Regions from separate parts of the Homo sapiens genome. Here region 2 is linked to region 1. The links are contacts of gene promoters, found by promoter capture Hi-C in human tissues and cell types (Jung and others, 2019). All regions are on one chromosome and are shown on one strand. The core of a region is centred on a gene start or on the middle of the fragment in contact, and the rest is flanking DNA. Distances in the headings are between cores, read along the strand shown. Region 1 holds the start of CD59 (CD59 molecule (CD59 blood group)). Region 2 overlaps KIAA1549L (KIAA1549 like).

Region 1 (6,118 bases), core at 2,619-5,118:
CAGGCGTGAGCCACCGCCCCCGGCGGCTATCCTTTTTAGAAAAAAAGTCAATTGTCTTTATTTAGTTTGTTATAACAAAATACCTTAGACTGAGTCATTTACAAACAATAGAGATTTATTGCTCACAGTTCTGGAGGGTGGGAAGTCCAAGATCAAGGCATCAGCAAATTTGGTGTCTGGTAAGTACCCACTCTCTGCTTCAAAGATGGCACCTTCTTGCTGTGTTTTATGTGGTGGAAAGAGCAAACAAACTTCCTCAGGCCTCTTTTATAAGGGCACTAATCCCCTTCATGAGGGCAGAGCCTAAAGGCCCTACCTCTTAATACTATTGCTTTAGGGATTGGATTTCAACAATTTGGGGGAACAAAAACATTCAGACCATAGCGTCAAACCACTTAATTTTTTCAAAACCGAACTTTTCCAATAAAGCAGTAATCAAAAACTAGTAAATCTTGGCAATTAAGGCTGGCCCTGGAATCCCTTGCCATTTTTTCTTTCTCTTTTCTGATGACCTCTCTCTCTATTTCCAGAGTACTTATGATGCCCCAAATCTCCCTTCCAACCCTGTCTAACCTTTGCTCCTCAGAATGCTTTGATTTGCTTTATCCTCTCATCAGAATTCACATTCTCTTAGTATGTTGAATGAGTGACCTCTAGTTCATACTGAGGTGTAGTTTTTTGTTTGTTTTTTCAGACAGTCTCGCTGTGTCTCCCAGACTGGAGTGCAGTGGCATGATCTCGGCTGACTCCAACCTCCGCCTCCCAGGTTCAAGTGATTCTTATGCCTCGGCCTCGTGGGTAGCTGGGATCACAGGTGTGCACTACCATGCCCTTTTTTGCATTTTTAGTAGAGCCAGGGTTTCACTATATTGACCAGGCTGGTCTCAAACTCCTGTCTTTAAGTGATCCTCCTGCCTCTGGCTCCCAAAGTGTTGGGATTACAGGTGTGAGCCACCGCGCCCGGCCTAACGTGAAGTTTGTTGGTAACAAGCTTCTGTATTTTCTGCTATTGGCAAGAATGCTTATTCACACGTAACAGGAATTTAACAGTTGGCATTAATGTTGCCCAAACCAGACTCTACTTTTGGTGGTGAAAAGGCCATTTCTGGCTCTGAGGACCCTTGAAAACACAACTGATTTTTTTTACTAATTTCTCTGAGGCTTGATATATCACTAGAATAAGACAAATACCTAAATTAACAGTAGCTTAAATAGTTTGGGGGTGGTTATTCTTGCGAATAGTCAGAGGTAGCTAGTTCAAGGCTGACATGATGGCACAGTGGTGTTATCAACAGTCCAGATTGGCTCCATCTTTCTGACCTGCCATCCTTAGCACAAGACTTTTCCTCTCAAAGACGATCATGGTTGCATACTGGCTGCTGCAGGCATATTGTATTCACAAAAGGATGATGATAACAAGGTAAAATGAAGTGGAAAATGAAAAGTGAGGCATGAGGCTGGAGAGGTAAACTAGCCAGGTCTCTAGCAGCCGTGTGGAGGGCAAGCAGAGAAGGGGCAGGGGATGCAGGAATTGACATGGGCAACATGGGGACCTGGTATTAAGGAATTGTAATGGCTCAAGCAACGCAAACTACAGATCTGAATTAGCACAGTAGCAATGTGAAAAAGGAATGAAATTGAGATATTGAAATGGTAAAATAGGCAGGAATGGCTGAGTAGATGTGAGGGAGTGGAAGAGGTCAACGTTGATTCCTAGGTTTCTGTCTTCATTTATGAAAAAAATTCAGGAAAAGCAGTCACTCTTTAAAGATGAATTCAGATTTGTGCACATTAAGTTCAAGATGTCTGTGGAACATATAAGTGGAGATGTCCAGCAGTCAGCTGGATATGAATATGAAGATAGGGGGAGTGGTCAGGGATGGAGACAGACTTTTGAATCATCTGCAAACATACATCCCAAGGTAAAAGAGTAGATACACTATAGTCTCCCAGGGAGCACACACAGCCATGGTTCTCAGTCTAATCCTGGGACACCAAATTATTAGTGGGTAAAGGAAAAGAATCTCAAGACCGAATGGTCAAGAAACCATTCTAGGGAACCAAACTAGGAGAGAGTGGCATCTCAGAAGCCAAGCGTGTCAAGGAAGGAATAGCTAACAGGATGTGTGTAAGGTATGTACACAAAAGAGCTTTGGAATCCATCTTGGGAAATATACAGTATTAGCTGTTTTAAGGAGACATGCTTTAAATATCAAAGCAAGTCATCCTGATTTAAAAAACTCCCACTTGTATAGAGGAATACCAGGATTTGAGCACCACCAAATGGAACTCATTCCCTGACATCCCAAAGCCATCAGAATAACAGTAGAAGCGTCAAGACAGTTACTATATGATTTTCCCTGCAAGACATTCAGTAATCTATGATTCCCCCTGCTTAAATTTTATCTCATGCCTTCTTCCCTGACCAGTTCAACACAAGCAGCCCTGAGATGTAATATCTTCTCACCCTGACCCTCAAAGTGTGTCTCATGCTTTCTAACAGAGGCCATCCTCTTGGAGGAAGACTTGTACTTTTGGCCTGTAGCCCCACCCTCCCTCCTATGGCGTTCTTACAGTCAGTTCTGCAGTGAGTGGGACACTTTCCAAATATAATAGCAAATGGAAACTTCTAATTACATCTGCACATAAAACTAATGTTCCAAATGGTGGTTGCGGTTCTGGTGAGTGCTTATAATTTTTTGTTACCTCAGCATCCATTTTTGAATATGTTTAACTTTTAATAACAGAAGCAAGTCTCAGTCACCATTGACAGTTTCCAGTACTATACCCCACGCAAATGGCTCTAGCTGGTGGCCAGAGATAAACATGCAGTGATGTGATAACAGGGCACTACTGCAGCTTCAAACTCTGGTTCAAGTTCCTCCCACCTCTGCCTTTTCACCTGCTTGCTTTTAAATCCACCAGTTAGAGCTCTCCAGAGGAAACCTAACTGGATAAAGTTGCTGGCCCAAAGGTCCGTTCCTCCCTTCCCTCTCCCTGTTCTCCCTGATCTCCGTGTGTGTGTGTGTGTGTGTGTGTGTGTGTGTGTGTGTGTCCTCTAGGCAAGCTGTGTACCACCCAGGGTCCGTAAGTACTAAAAACTCTTAAACTTTCACACCGCTGTGTTATTGAAACCATGCCTACAATCCAGTCCCTGAGGCGAGGCCACCCTGAAGGGACAGACTCATGCAGGCGGATCCCCTGGTCTTGCTCTTCTGTCCCTGCCTCTGGTGGCTGCTGGGGAACAGTAGCTACCAGCTAAGTTGATAGAGACACTCGAAGAGGTTCATTCAAAACACTGGTCCCCGAGCAGCCCAGTAAGCTTTTAAACGCATAACATTTTGTTTGGGTCTCAAACAAGTCACAAGGCACGGATACGGATGCGGCTGTGGCTGATGGCTATTTGGATGCTGCCCAAGCCTCGCAGTAGGAAGCAGCTTCAGACTGCAGCAGGGCCGCATAGCCCGATAGCCAGGCCCTGGGGCACCCAGGGCACCAGCAAGACGCACAGAAACGTTTTGAAAAACATTTTAATATACTTAAAAAAAAAGTAAAAGGGAAAATCAGAAGTCTTTGGAAGTTTCCTACTGTTTTTATGTCCCATAGCAAATCCGAGGAGGACGCCCCAAACTTTCAGTTCCCTGGGGTTTTGAAGGTGCTCATTGGGTCCTGGCCACCCGGCCTTCTCAGAACCTGGGCCAGGAGGCTGAGCTCCGCGCGGGGGTGGAGGGAGAGGAGGAGGTTCCTGCCGAGGTGCGGCTGCGCGGTGCGGGAGCCGGGAGCCTGGGAGGGCAAGGGCATCCTGAGGGGCGGGGCCGGGGGGCGGAGCCTTGCGGGCTGGAGCGAAAGAATGCGGGGGCTGAGCGCAGAAGCGGCTCGAGGCTGGAAGAGGATCTTGGGCGCCGCCAGGTAAGAAGGCCCGAAGGCCTGCTGGGGTTTGGGTGAGCCGAGCCGAGGTGGCGGCGGCAGTCTGGGCCCGGGCGGAGGGTCTGTGGGGGCTACCCCCGTCCTCGCTTTCCACTCGACCCCTGCCGGGCGAGCCTCCCGAGGCCTGGCCCTTCCAACCCGTCACCGCGGCCCGGTGTCCTAGCCGAACGCTGGCTTCATTTTATCTACGAGGAAGGAGAAACGGGGAGCGCGCCCTCTCCCAGAAGCAGCCCCGTTACCCCCGTCGCGCCCCCCATTCCCTCGGGGGCAGCCTCGCACCCGGGCCCCTGCCATCGCTTTCGTCTCAAGGGAAGCTCTAGCGGTCCAGAGAAACTGCGCCGGGGGAAAGGCCAGCCCTCCGTGGTCACGGCAGTTCCTCTCTCCCCTCGCGGTCTAAATGTGTAATTTTGAAAAGCAGGTGTCGGGCGAAACGGACTTTTTTTTTTTTTTGAGATGGAGTTTCGCTGTTGCCCAGGCTGGAGTGCAGTGGCGCGATCTGGGTTCACCGCAACCTCCGTGTACCGGGTTCAAGCGATTCTCCTGCCACAGCCTCCTGAGTAGCTGGGATTACAGGCATGCGCCACCATGCCTGGCTAAATTTTGTATTTTTAGTAGAAACGGGGTTTTCCCATGTTGGTCAGGCTGATCTTGAATTCCTGACCTCGTGATCCGCCCGCCTCCGCCTCCCAAAGTGTTGGGATTACAGGTGTGAGCCACCGCGCCCGGCCGAAACGGACGTTTTAAGTACAACGTGATGTTTTGTTTTCTTGGGTCGGCTCGGGCCGCACCCTTCTTAGAGTCTGACTGCTGACTTTTCAAAAAACAACATTAACCCGGGAGGCTGAGGTAGCGGTGAGCCGAGATCGCGCCATTGCCCTACTGCCTGGGCAATAAGAGCGAGACTCCGCCTCAAAAACGAACAAAACCCACAAAGAACAAACAAAAAAAACCAACATTAAGCAGTGTGCCTTTTATGGCCGTTTAGTGATACCCAGGCTCTTCACTGGTCATTTCTGGAAGTATTTAACAGCACTTGATGGGTAAAACAATAGGCTTCACTTCACAGGGTGGTTGAGATGATTGACGGAAAGCGCTCAGCACAAACGCGGCGGCTGCTAATTATTTCAGGTACCCTGCGATCCCTGAGCAGTTGTTCAAGTTCTCCACTCCTGGCGGTTTACTCCCAGTTCCCTGAAGAAGGCACAGAGCCCCGAATGTTGAGGGAGATGGCAACGTTTGCCAAAATGTGGCTATTTACGTGGCAGTTTATGAAGGAGAGGCAGAAAGGGAGGCTGCCTCCCCTACAAGCCAAACAGTCCTAAAACTTGTGGCCTCTGTATTTTCACAGTGGAAACTAGAAACTGTTTGCTGAACTTAGCTGTAAGAAAAACATCCCATTAGCTGAGTGGCTTAGGAGATAAAAGCCTAAATAAAATGGATCTTAGGGTGAGAGAGTGGGGTGCCTAATGGCATTCATCTTTGACAGCTGCTGGTAGAAGCTCTTGAAAAGTAGAGCATGGAAAATTCTGGGCCACCTCTTTAAGAACCTCAGCCAAACCGCCACAGACATTGCCAAGCCCAGAAGTGCTTGAGGCTTTCTAAAGGCAAAGACTTCTTTTTACTTATGTCCTATATCTTAGGAAACATATTCACTAAACCTTGGTTTTGCATGTGTACTTAACACGGGAGGGGCCGTGAGTGCGGAGATAGGACTCTTTGGAGAGTTAGGGATTGGCATTCCGGAACAAACTGCAGGAAAGGCCCTTGTAGGGGAAGCTGCAGATTTGTTTGGTCCAAAGAGTTCTGGCCTAATAAGTGGGAGCTGACCAATGAGAACACTTGGACACAGGGAGGGGAACAACACACACTGGCGCCTGTCGGCAGGTGGGGTGGGTGGGGATAGAGCATTAGGAAAAACAGCTAATGCATGCTGGGCTTAATACCTAGGTGATGGGTTGATAGGTGCAGCAAACCACCATGGTACACGTTTACCTATGAAACAAATCTGCACATCCTGCACATGTACCCTAGAATTTATATGTATATCACACAAAGAGTTTTGGAGTGGTTATTCCTGGCATGAGAACCTTGGCTGGATTGGAAAGCCTTTTCCGTTATGATGGTTGTTTTCTCTTTGTCTCTTCCTGCTGATGTAATTTGTTCCGTGAACTGAGTGATGGATGTTTGTCTG
Region 2 (6,118 bases), core at 2,297-4,796, 310 kb after region 1:
GGCTGAACCCTGAGGAAGGTTAATGTTTAGAGGTCATGAAGATGAAGAGGGATCCACAAAGGAGACTGAGAAGAACCATGAAATCATGGCAGCTGGAAAGCAGCTCCACGGAGAACAAGTGATCCTTCCTTAAATGCTGCCGTGAGGGCAATACATTGAGGACCGAAAATGGACCACTGGATTTGACAGATTGGGAGGTCACTGGTGACCTCGATAAGAGCAACCCTGGAATAGTAAGGAGGAAAGACTGATTGGAGTGGGTTCAAGAGGGAATGGGAAACTCAAGAACAAAAAGACAAGCAACCCGATTTTTAAATGGGCAGAAATGTGAATAGACATTTCTCTGAAGATATACAAATGGTCAATTCGCCACTTGGGAAATGCAAATCAAAACCACAATGAGGGCTGGGAACGGTGGCTCACACCCATAATCCCAGCACTTTGGGAGGCCGAGGTGGGCGGATCACTTGAGGTCAGGAGTTTGAGACCAGCCTGGCCAACATGGTGAAACCCCATCTCTACCAAAAATACAAAAATTAGCAGCGGGTAGTGGTGGGTGCCTGTAATCCCAGGTACTTGGGAGGCTGAGGCAGGAGAATCGCTTGAACCTGGGAGGCGGAGGTTGCACTGAGTCGAGATTGCACCATTGCACTCCAGCCTGGGTGACAAGAGCAAAACTCTGCCTCAAAAACAAAAAACAAAACGAGATACCACCTCACACCCACTAGGGTGGAGAAATAGGAACACTTTTACACTGTTGGTGGGAGTGTAAACTAGTTCAACCATTGTGAAAGACAGTGTGGCAATTCCTCAAGGATCTAGAACTAGAGATACCATTTGACCCAGCGATCCCACTACTGGGTATATACCCGAGGGATTATAAATCATGCTACTATAAAGACACATGCACACATATGTTTATTGCAGCACTATTCACAATAGCAAAGACTTGGAACCAACTCAAACGTCCATAAATGATAGACTGGGTTAAGAAAATGTGGCACATATACACCATGGAATACTATGCAGCCATAAAAAAGGATGAGTTAATGTCCTTTGTAGGGACATGGATGAAGCTGGAAAACATCACTCTGAGCAAACTATCGCAAGGACAGAAAACCAAACACCACATGTTCTCACTCATAGGTGGGAACTGAACAGTGAGAACACTTGGATACAGGGCGAGGAACATCACAAACTAGGTCCTGTCGTGGGCGGGGGGATGGGGAGGGAGAGCATTGGGAGAAATACCTAATGTGAATGACGAGTTGATGGGTGCAACAAACCAAATGGCACATGTATACATATGTAACAAACCTGCACGTTGTGCACATGTACCCTAGAACTTAAAGTATAATTTTTAAAAAAACAGGAAATTATAAACGTTGACAAAGAGGTAAGGAAATATAAGGAAATCAGAACACTTGTACATTACCGGTGGTAATGTAAACTGGCCCAGCCACTTGGTCCAAGCTGCAAACAGTTTGGTGGCTCCTTTAAAAGTGAAACAGAACTACCATATGACCCAGCAATTCCACCCCTAGGTATGCACCCAAGAGAACTGAAAACATATGTCCACACAAAAACTTGTACATTCATATTTATAGCAGCACTGGTCACCATAACCAAAAGGTGGAAACAACCAAATGTCTATCAGTGGACGAACTGATAAGCAAAATGGGCTAGATACATACAATGAAACATTACTAACCAATAAAAGGAAATGAAATTCTGATGCATGCTACAACATGGATGAACCTTGCAAACATTATGCTAAATGAATTAAGTTCACATATTGTATGGCTCTAATTATATAAAATATACAGAACAAGTAAATCCATAGACACGGAATGCCAATTTGTGGTTGCCAAACACTGCAGGGGAGAGAAGAGAGGGTGACTACTTAACTAGTAAGGGGGTTGCTTTCAGAATAATGAAAAGGTTTCAGAAGTGGATAGATGTAGTGGCTGCATAACATTATAAATGCTACTGAGTTGTACACTTTAAAACACCAAAATGATGACTTCTATGGTAAGTGGATTTCACCTCAATTAAGAAAAAAAGAGAAAGAATTGGGAAGTGAGGAACCGGAGACAGCCTGTAAGGAAATTATTTCAAGGGGGTTTGCTGAAAAAGAGGAAGGAGAAATAGGGACGGAGGGAGTATAGCAGCGAAGGGGGATGCATGGCCAAGGGAGGGCTTTCCTAACATGGAGAAATGGAAGACAAATCAGCATGCATATCTATGATGGGAGAGGAGCATACTGAGCAGGGGGAACTGCTGGCAGGAGGACCCCGACAGCCTGAGAGGGGATATTGTCTCCCACAAAGGGATCAGAGATGGTTCATCCTCAAAGGGAGAGAAGGCAGGATTCAGGCAGCCAGGTTAAGGCAGTGGTAAGGGCTTGTGGAAATCCTCTTCTACCTGTTTTTTCTTGGGAGATGGGGAGATTTTGTGAGGAAGAGAAGGTATGAAGCAGTCACCCTAGAGAATGGGCAGATGACTGTGCTAGGGAAATAGAGTGGCATTGCTGGGCAGCACCAAAGGCCCACTTGAGGTTCATGGTATAAACTGATGAGACTAATGAGCCTGGTCGTGTGGTTTTCTACCGCCCATTTAGTTGCCTGGGTAAAGGTGGAGAGCTACTGAATTTAATATTTATCCCTAAGTTTCCCCAAAACACATTTGACCACAGAAACCAATTAATAGCCCCAAAGAGCCTACATAAAATGCTAGTCTATGCTTAAACAGATAATAGGGGGTAGGAAAACACTGATTCCTAATTTTCTATCAAGCACAGATATAAATGATAATGGAGGGGCCAGATCTGGAGGCCCTCAGGGGAGCACCCACCAAGGGCAAAGGAGAAAAGATCAGCACAGCTGTCAGAACCTGAGCTTGCAGTCAGATTTCCACTCCATCCAAGTGCTCTTGGGCAAATGAATCTCTCTGAGATGTATCCTAAAATAAGGGAACTATCACCTACCTGCTTTTCAAAAATATTATTAAGATTAATGGTGACAAGCAGTTGGTACCCAGATTCTAGCACATAACAAACTTTCAATCTAAGGGTAATCATCATTATAGCCCCACAGCTCTGCCCAGGTGACCAGGTGAAAGATGATACAGCCAAAATACTATCACCTCCAGGTACTCAACCACCTGTGCACCAGGAGGGCCTCTGGGGATCTCAAAGAGTTAACCCTCCTTGCTCTCAATTTATGGTCAGGAACTCCATCAGTCAAGATACAGTTTGACTCCTTTAGCTTCAGAAAATTGGTCTTTCTAGCTCCTAAATTCATATGCAAGAAATGAAACCCCCTCTACTTCCCATAAAACAGGATATTTCACAAAGCTTTCATGTGTCCCAGTATCATGTTTTTAACTTCTGAAAAAACTTCAGACTCATAGAAAATTACCAAAGCAGAGAGTGCAGAGAGTTCAATACGCTTCACTTGGCTTCCTCTACTGTTAATATCCTACATAACCATAATACAATTACCAAAACCAAGAATATAACACTGATAAATTTATATTAACTACTCTAGACCTTATTTGAATGTTGCTAACTTTGTCTCTAATGTCCTTTTTCTGATGCAGAATCCAATCCAGGGTCCCACATTGCATTTAGTTCTCAAGTCTCCTTAGCCTCCACCAATCTGTGACAGTTCCTCAGTCTTTCTTTGTCTTTCATGACCTTGCCATCTGTGAAGAGGACTGACTAGTCAGGTATTTTGTAGAACTGCCCTTAATTTGGGTTTGTCTGGTGTTTTCTCGTGCTTAGACTGAACTTGTGCATTTTCAGTAAAAATCCCAAAGAAGTGATGTTTTGCCTTTTGCTCTGTGCATCAAAATAAGGAGAACATGTTGACACATCTCATTACTGGTGATGTTATCTTTGATTACTTTATTTGGCTAAAGTAGTGTTTGCTGGGTTTCTCCATCCATATGACGTGTGATGCAAAGTGAAATAGAATTCCAGCCTTTCCTAATAATAGCGGAAATAAGCAGATGTTTTCATCTACGTACAGCAAGTGAGAGGACTTGAACTCAGGTTTTCCAAGTCCAAATGCTGTCTTCATTGTACTCTCATTACTGCATTTGGATGTCTCCCATGAATATTTATCTCAAGTATATTTCAAAGCTTATGTTCCATAAGGAAATGCCACAACAAATCACTCTTATGAGCCCAGGGCTTCTCCAATGAAAGCTACAGTACAAAGTATAAAACACAGTTGTCAGAGAAACAGATATTAACATGAAGATCCCTTGATACATCACAGTGACACAGGAACATTCTCAATGACTGCACTTTATTTGCTGCAAGTACAGAGAACAAATCAGCAGAGAATGAGTCAACCAAGAGAACCAAGAGTCCTCTAATTGACAAAATTTTAAAATAGGACTTGAGGACCAAGAAGAAGAGCTGTAAGAAACACAAGGTAAGTTCTCTTCTGCTCTAGATACTAACGTATATACAAATCTTCAAATCAATTAACTCATCTTAGGCTCTGAAAAGCTCCTTGAGATGGAATTAGAGCACATATTAACATCTCCACCCTACAAATGAATAAAATAAGACATAAAGAGATCAAAGTTTGGTATCTAGAAAGGGAATCAAAATCAAGGTTTTATTTGTTCATTCATTTAACTAGCACTGACTCCCTGCCAACTTTCTATTCTAAGTGCTGGGCATTTGGAGATACTGGAGACCCATGGTCTCTTGACTGGAGGAGTTTAGCTTTCCTCATGCCCTCTGTACAGAGGCCAGAAAGGCAGCACCTCTCCCAACCTCATTCTTCACCTCCTCACCACACAGAGTCCACAGCCATCAGGATTCTACAGAAGCAGGCTGCATCTGTGATGATACTTGGAGAGGAGTATATTTCAATACTCTGTATTTAAAACTTGAACAAAGATCATCATTCTCCTGGTTTATTCTCTTCTGTTTGCCCTTCTCATCAGTACCCAGAGTAGAGCATGTATGAGGGGACTCAAAAAGTTCATGGTAAAAATGAAATTAAAAGATAAAAATACAAAATTTATTTCTTAACATAAGCTCTATCAAGGTCAAGACACTTTTGTAAGTGGTGACATCAGTCATTCAGTGCATCTCTAAAGAACTGAGGGTCCTAGGAATTTAACCATGTCAATGCTGTATTTTTACATTATTAAATGAAGAAAAATGAGTGCCCTCTAAAGATTTTTTTTAAGATTAGGAAACAAAAACAGGCAGAAGGAGCCAAATTAAGACTGCAAGGTGGATGTATAATGGTTTCCCATAGAAACTCTTGCAAAGCTGCCTTTGCTTGATGAGAGGAATGAACTTGTTGTGGTGAAGAAGGACTCTCAGATAAAGCTTTCACAGGTATTTTTCTGCTAAAGCTTTGGCCAACTTTCTCAAAACTCTCATAACAAGCAGATGTTATCATTCTCTGGCCCAGAAAGTCAATAAGCAAACTGCCTTGAGCATCACAAAAAAACGTTGCCATGACCTTTGCTCTTGATCAATCTGCTTTTGCTTTGTCTGGACCACCTCCACCTCTTGCTAGCCATTGCTTTGATTGTGCTTTGTCTTCAGGATTGTACTGGTGAAGCCATGTTTCATCCTCTGTTACAATTCTTCCAATTCTTTTTTTTTTTTCCAAGACAGAGCCTCATTCTGTCACCAAGGCTGGAATGCACTGGCATGATCACAGCTCAAGGCAGCCTCAACCTCCTGGGCTCAGGCAATCCTCCTGCCTCAGCCTGCAGACTAGCTGAGACCACAGGCACATGCCACCATGCCCAGCTAGCTTTTATTATTATTTGTAGAGACAGCATCTCGCTATGTTGCCCAGGCTGGTCTCAAATTCCTAGGCTGAAGCAATTCTCCTGCCTTGGCCTCCCAAAGTGCTCGAATTACAGGCATGAGCCACCGCACTCAGCCTTCTGTTACAATTCTTCAAAGAATGACTTTAGAATCTGGATCTCACTTGTATAAAACTTCCACTGAAAGCTCTGCTCTTATCTGCAGCTGACCTGGGTGCAACAAATTTGGCACCCATTGAGTAGAAAGTTTGTTCAACTTTAATTTTTCAGTCAGATTTGTGTAAGCTGAGCAAAATGAGAAGTCTAT

The links. Contacts are between HindIII fragments. The study calls those that stand out against the background at their distance.
Region 2: a fragment that was not itself captured here is called in contact with the fragment with the promoter of CD59 in region 1 in 1 of the 25 tissues and cell types used here (dorsolateral prefrontal cortex).

Annotation. Positions count from the first base shown.
Region 1 is chr11:33,734,173-33,740,290 of GRCh38, reverse strand. It overlaps CD59 (CD59 molecule (CD59 blood group)), which reads left to right and starts at 3,868. Exons shown (of 4, transcript NM_000611.6): 1 at 3,868-3,909. RefSeq lists a silencer at 3,750-4,219. The HindIII fragment of the contact is 16,078 bases long and covers 2,158-6,118 here.
Region 2 is chr11:33,423,557-33,429,674 of GRCh38, reverse strand. The region is part of intron 1 of KIAA1549L (KIAA1549 like); the gene reads right to left. Among named protein-coding and RNA genes, the nearest start is that of KIAA1549L, 51 kb to the right of the region's middle. The HindIII fragment of the contact is 4,649 bases long and covers 1,222-5,870 here.